Linked DNA regions of Homo sapiens: region 1 is linked to region 2. Evidence: promoter capture Hi-C in human tissues and cell types (Jung and others, 2019). All regions are on one chromosome and are shown on one strand. The core of a region is centred on a gene start or on the middle of the fragment in contact, and the rest is flanking DNA. Distances in the headings are between cores, read along the strand shown.

The links. Contacts are between HindIII fragments. The study calls those that stand out against the background at their distance.
Region 1: a contact is called between a fragment that was not itself captured here and the fragment with the promoter of KCNH6 in region 2, in 2 of the 25 tissues and cell types used here (dorsolateral prefrontal cortex and spleen).

What each region holds. Positions count from the first base shown.
Region 1 is chr17:63,765,472-63,768,171 of GRCh38, forward strand. It overlaps CCDC47 (coiled-coil domain containing 47), which reads right to left. Exons shown (of 13, transcript NM_020198.3): 2 at 441-723. The coding sequence starts at 704. Among named protein-coding and RNA genes, the nearest start is that of CCDC47, 6.8 kb to the right of the region's middle. The HindIII fragment of the contact is 5,197 bases long and covers 1-2,700 here.
Region 2 is chr17:63,521,876-63,524,727 of GRCh38, forward strand. It overlaps KCNH6 (potassium voltage-gated channel subfamily H member 6), which reads left to right and starts at 1,483. Exons shown (of 13, transcript NM_001278919.2): 1 at 1,483-1,614; 2 at 2,264-2,494. The coding sequence starts at 1,539. The HindIII fragment of the contact is 20,898 bases long and covers 1-2,852 here.

The DNA of each region.
Region 1 (2,700 bases), core at 13-2,512, 240 kb after region 2:
CTGACATGACAGGCACGCACCACCACGCCCAGCTAATTTTGTATTTTTAGTAGAGACAGGGTTTCACCATGTTGGCCAGGCTGGTCTCAAACTCCTGACCTTGGGTGATCTGCCTGCCTTGGCCTCCCAAAGTGCTGGGATTACAGGCATGAGCCACCGTGCCCAGCCAATTGCAAAGTTCTAAATAATACAATTCTCACCCACAAACAGTATCTATTCTCTAACCCCTCTTCCAGTCAGGGTTTCAATAGAAGAACACAATTCATTCTGTTAATGTAAAAGGTGGAAACTTACCACAGAACATTTAGAAGAGCTCTACCTAGTGAATGAAAATGAAGACTCCAGACAGTAAAGGTCTCTTGAGCCTGAGGATTAATTTTAATGTTTGGGAAAGGTGCTAGTTACAAATTTTTCCAATAAATTAATAAAAAGAGCCTCACCTGGGTATCTGCATCTTCAAAATCTCCTTCTTGGTTTTCATCCTGCCCTTCCAACTCCACAGTGGTCTCATCTTCATCATCTTCAGTGATTATGACCCGTTGAGGAGATTCAGTAACAGAGTCTTCCATGACATCCTCAAATTCAGCGAAGTCATTATCATCATACTCTACTATGTCCTCCTCATCCTCAAAATCATCAAACTTGGCTTCAGAGACACTCCCAAACACCAGAAGGACAACACAGAAAGTGTGGAAGGCTTTCATTGCACCTTGAGAAAAAAAGCTTAAAAAAAAAGAGAACCCCAAAATGGATTGCCATTCTATACATACTGATCAGATTTTATAAACAGTAAAAATCTATAAACCTCTCCTGCTTTTCTCTTATTTGGTACTATTAGATTCAGACCACATTATATAAAGAACAATGAAGTAAGGTCAAGAGGCTTGGGTTCTAGTCTGGATCCTGGCACTACATATCTGTAAAATCTTCAACAAGTCATCAAGTCATTTATTTAATTTCTTTTTTTTTGAGACGGAGTTTTGCTCTTGTCGCCCAGGTTGGAGCACAATGGTGTGATCTTGGCTCACTGCAACCTCTGCCTCCTGGGTTCAAGCGATTCTCCTGCCTCAGCCTCCCGAGTAGCTGGGATTACAGGCATGTGCCACCACGCCTGGCTAATTTTTGTATTTTTAGTAGAGATGGGGTTTCACCATGTTGGCCAGGCTAGTTGTGAACTCCTGACCTCAGGGTGATCCATCTGTCTCGGCCTCCCAAAGTGCTGGGATTACAGGTGTGAGCCACTGTGCCCAGCCCAAGTCATTTAATTTCTTTAGGTTGGGTTTTCTAAAACTCTGTCCATTTACATAGAGTATTCAATAAGCATTTTTTGAGGGCCTATTAAAAAGCTTTCTATAGAAAATGAGAAGGAGGTAAAAATGAAGGAATAAGATGTAGCTATTTATCTGTTAGTGGTAACAAGAATAATCCATGAATAAAAAAGCCATTCACCCTTAGATTGATTTGTGTTCATGCATGAACATAATTATCATAAGAGCAAACACTTAAATCACTATGTGCTAGACACTGTTCCAAAGACTTTACAAAAAGCAACTAATTTAATCCTCATAACAACCCTCTAAGGAAAGCTGCAACATTAACATCCCCATTTCACTAATAAGGAAAATGGGGCAGAGAGATGCTAAGTAGTACAACTACCAAGTGACAAAGAGCTGTGATTTAATCCCAGAGTTTTGCCTCCAGAGTCCATGCTATGAACCACTTCTCAGGCTGCATCTCAAATGTGGTAGGTGGCTGTGCTTTCATATTACTTGCTTAGAAGCAGTAATTTTTTGCTAACCAATTGTTCTTAGTGTGTATGATGGAATTCAATGTATCATCATTTTATAGCTTTTTGAAGAACATTAAGTTTTCTAATACGTGAAAAAAGCTTCTGCATTAACAAATATAATGATATCATATCTGTGACAAAATATGTGCCAAATTATATGAAAACATGGACAACAATGTAACCATTTTCCCAAATAGGTAAGGCTTTACAAAAAAAAAAGTGGGGAGACCATTTGAGCTGAAATTTGAAAAGTATATTTCAACCATCAAACCCATTTAGGCTGTATTTCCAGTCCTGTCCCTCATCTAAACACCAGCCCTATGTCATAACTCACTGTAACCTTGAAGACATATCTGTTTTGACGCCCTACAAACTTTTCGTGTATCTAGTAAGATAGTAAATATTCTAGGCTTCATGGGGTACATACTGGTCTCTGCTGCATATTGTTCTTTTTTTAAAAAAAACTTTAAAACAATATAAAGACCATTCTTACTTCACAGGCCTCCCCTCAGGCTGACCCAATCCCTGCCTATAGTCATCTCAAAATCATCAGGTATCTGAATTTCTCTATTCGTATATTAATATCAATCACATTTTTCCAGTCTTGCTTGTTGAAAAGAACAAGATATCTAATGTTTTGCCTTCTTTTTCCTTTGAAATCTATCAGCCATCAAATCCTGGTGTTTCCTTCTTTGATTCCTATAGCCACTACAAGTTACCCCCACCTGCTGAAGAGCCACCATATTATTTTAAATGGTATCGTCTTAATGCTCTCCCCACTCCCTACTTTTCCTCCCTAAAAACTACCAGCATCTGTCTAAAACAGAACTTTTGTTACATATAAGGATTCAATAATCATCAAAGGCTAACCAATTATTGCAAAGTAATATAAAAACTCCTTTGGCATTCAC
Region 2 (2,852 bases), core at 233-2,732:
CTCCTTCCTCCAAACTCACCTCTCCCACACCCCCTTGTTCCCCCCACCCCAGCCCCTCTGCACTGACATCACCTTTGGCCTTTGCCTAAGGTGCATGCCCCATTTGAATGCTTGCCCTCCAAGATCAGGCTCAAAATTGCTCACCAAACCCTCTGCAGCACTACAAGCCCACCCAGATGCTCAGTGAACAGTAGTCCCCTTCTCCCCTTCCTCTCCAGGAAGCCTCTTTCAATAAACCTATTCCCACCCCCATTTGCTTTTTCTAGTGTGTTCATTTTCAGTCAGTACTCAGTACTCAGACACTTTTATCAGTGGTCACTTGCTAATAGGTGGTTTTAAATCTGTTCTCCTTCCAAGATGTACCTGTATGCTAAGAGCTCTCAGGCCTCTGAAGAAGGCATCTTATTGCATACTTCTTTCTTTCTTTCTTTTTATTTTCAGATGGAGTCTCGCGTCTCGCTCTGTCTACCAGGCTGGAGTACAGTGGCGCAATCTCGGCTCACTGCAACCTCCGCCTCCCGGGTACAAGCGATTCTCCCACTTCAGCCTCCCAAGTAGCTGGGATTATAGGTTTGCGCCACCACTCAGCTAATTTTTGTTTTTTCAGTAGAGACAGGGCTTCGCCATGTTGGCCAGGCTGGTCTCAAACTCCTGACCTCAGGTAATCTGCCCACCTCTGCCTCCCAAAGTGCTGGGATTACAGGCGTGAGCCACCGCGCCTGGCCCTTATTGCATATTTCTTGCACGTCTTCATGTGTACTCCTACCCCCTCCTCTCAGGACCAGGCCCTGGCTGGACTTGGCGGCAGGAGCTCTGCATGGGACCTAGGTCTCAGCTGAGCTGGAGATCACTTGCTATAAGAGCAGGCCAGAGGCCTAATGGTATCATTGCCAGGGTCGGGCCCAGTGGTCAGACCCGGAAGAAAGCTTTCAGCCAAAGACCACCTGAGGCCCCTAACAACCCCATCTGTAGCCCCCCTCCTGCCTGGGAAACTCCCTGCACTGGGAGGGGAGACTGCCCTTTGGTACTGGGAGGGAATCGGAGAGGTGCTGAGGCCATTGGCCCTTAGGACAGGAACAGAAGCAGCTCCTCAGAGAACACCTGCCCTATTCCAGGGCCAGGACCCCAGCCCCGCCCCGCCCCGCCCCGCCCCGCCCCGTAGGATGCAAGGCCCCGCCCCAGCCCCGTCGGGTCCCAGAGAAACTGCCCCGCCCAGCGGCCCCCTCCCCGCCGCCGGCGCGCGGCTTCTTTCAGCACCAAGGCGTGGACAGCTCCCGGGCCGGCGCAGAGGAGAGGAGGCCAGGAGGGCGCGGGCCAGGGAGGCGAGGGGAGGGCAGGGGAGCGCAGGAAAGGAAAGGAGAGGTGGGGCAGGGGTGGGGAGGGGAGGGCAGACGCAGGCTGGCGGGCGGGGCGCGGAGCCCGGCGGCCCTCCCCGGGGGCGGCGCCCACCGGAGCCGGACGCTGCTGAGCCCGAGGACAGACGGAGACGCCGGGAGCCAGTGGCGCCTGTGGCTCCGGGCAGGGGCCGCGGCCGAAAGATGCCGGTCCGCAGGGGCCACGTCGCTCCCCAAAACACTTACCTGGACACCATCATCCGCAAGTTCGAGGGCCAAAGTGAGTGTGTGTATGTTGGGGCGGGGGGACGATCTGGAGTCCTGGTTCCGTGAAAGGGGGGGCTGGACCCCTTTACTAACTTCTAACCGGGCAAGGTGGTGAGTGCCGGGTGCTGAATGAAAAATCCTTCTTTTGATGTCCCCAACACCTTCTCCTCCAGGGGGACCCGCTTGCCTTAAATGCTGTCCTCTTTTCTGGAACACAAGGAGCAGCGTGCAGGCCTTCCCTCCCTACTGCCAGCTGTTTCCTTGGTGCCCCAAGTTCGAACCTCCCCTTCCAGCCACTGCCTGCCCCCTCATCCGCGTCCTCCAGAGGCTTCTCTGAGTCCTTCTTTTCCTTCCTTTTCATATCCTGGTTCTGGTCTTCCCAGGAGCTTTCCCAGGCCTGACCCCCATCTGGTCACATCCCTGCCTCCCTTCCCCACACTTTTCCTGTTTCCAGGAGGCCTTGGGCCTTCCTTCCACCTCAAGACCCTCACTGCCCTAGTCTTCCCACAATCCCCAGGCCTGACTCCCTCCCTCATTCCGGTCACTGCCCTGCTCCTCTGCCTAAATTCCCCTTACTGCCACCAAGAGTCCTTATGATCTTTCCCTCCCAGCCGCTGGATCCTGGCTCCCATGGACTTTTTGCCTCCCACCTCCCACCCCAGGTCGGAAGTTCCTGATTGCCAATGCTCAGATGGAGAACTGCGCCATCATTTACTGCAACGACGGCTTCTGCGAACTCTTCGGCTACTCCCGAGTGGAGGTGATGCAGCAACCCTGCACCTGCGACTTCCTCACAGGCCCCAACACACCAAGCAGCGCCGTGTCCCGCCTAGCGCAGGCCCTGCTGGGGGCTGAGGAGTGCAAGGTGGACATCCTCTACTACCGCAAGGATGGTGAGGCATACTCAGGCCAGAGGCTTTGCAGGGCAGGCTTGGCCCTCTGTCTTGTCCAGCCAGGGTGGCCTTGGGGAAGGCACTGACCCAGGGTCCAAAGGGCCTGAACAAACCCTGTTTCTTCTAGGGGCCTTGGTTCCTCCACAGGCATTGGATATGATGCCTTCTGAGGTCCTTTGCAGGAGCTAGGGATCAGGCTGGGCCACCCACTGGTTCTGGCCTGGGGCAGGGCCTCCTGCTCTGCCATCCCTCTGCTGTGTCCCTGGTCTCCTGGCTCTCCACTATCTTACTGTCAGCCCCAGCGGTCAGGCAGCTGGGATGGAAATTAACCTTCCCTCCTCTCCGTCTGCTCCAAGGA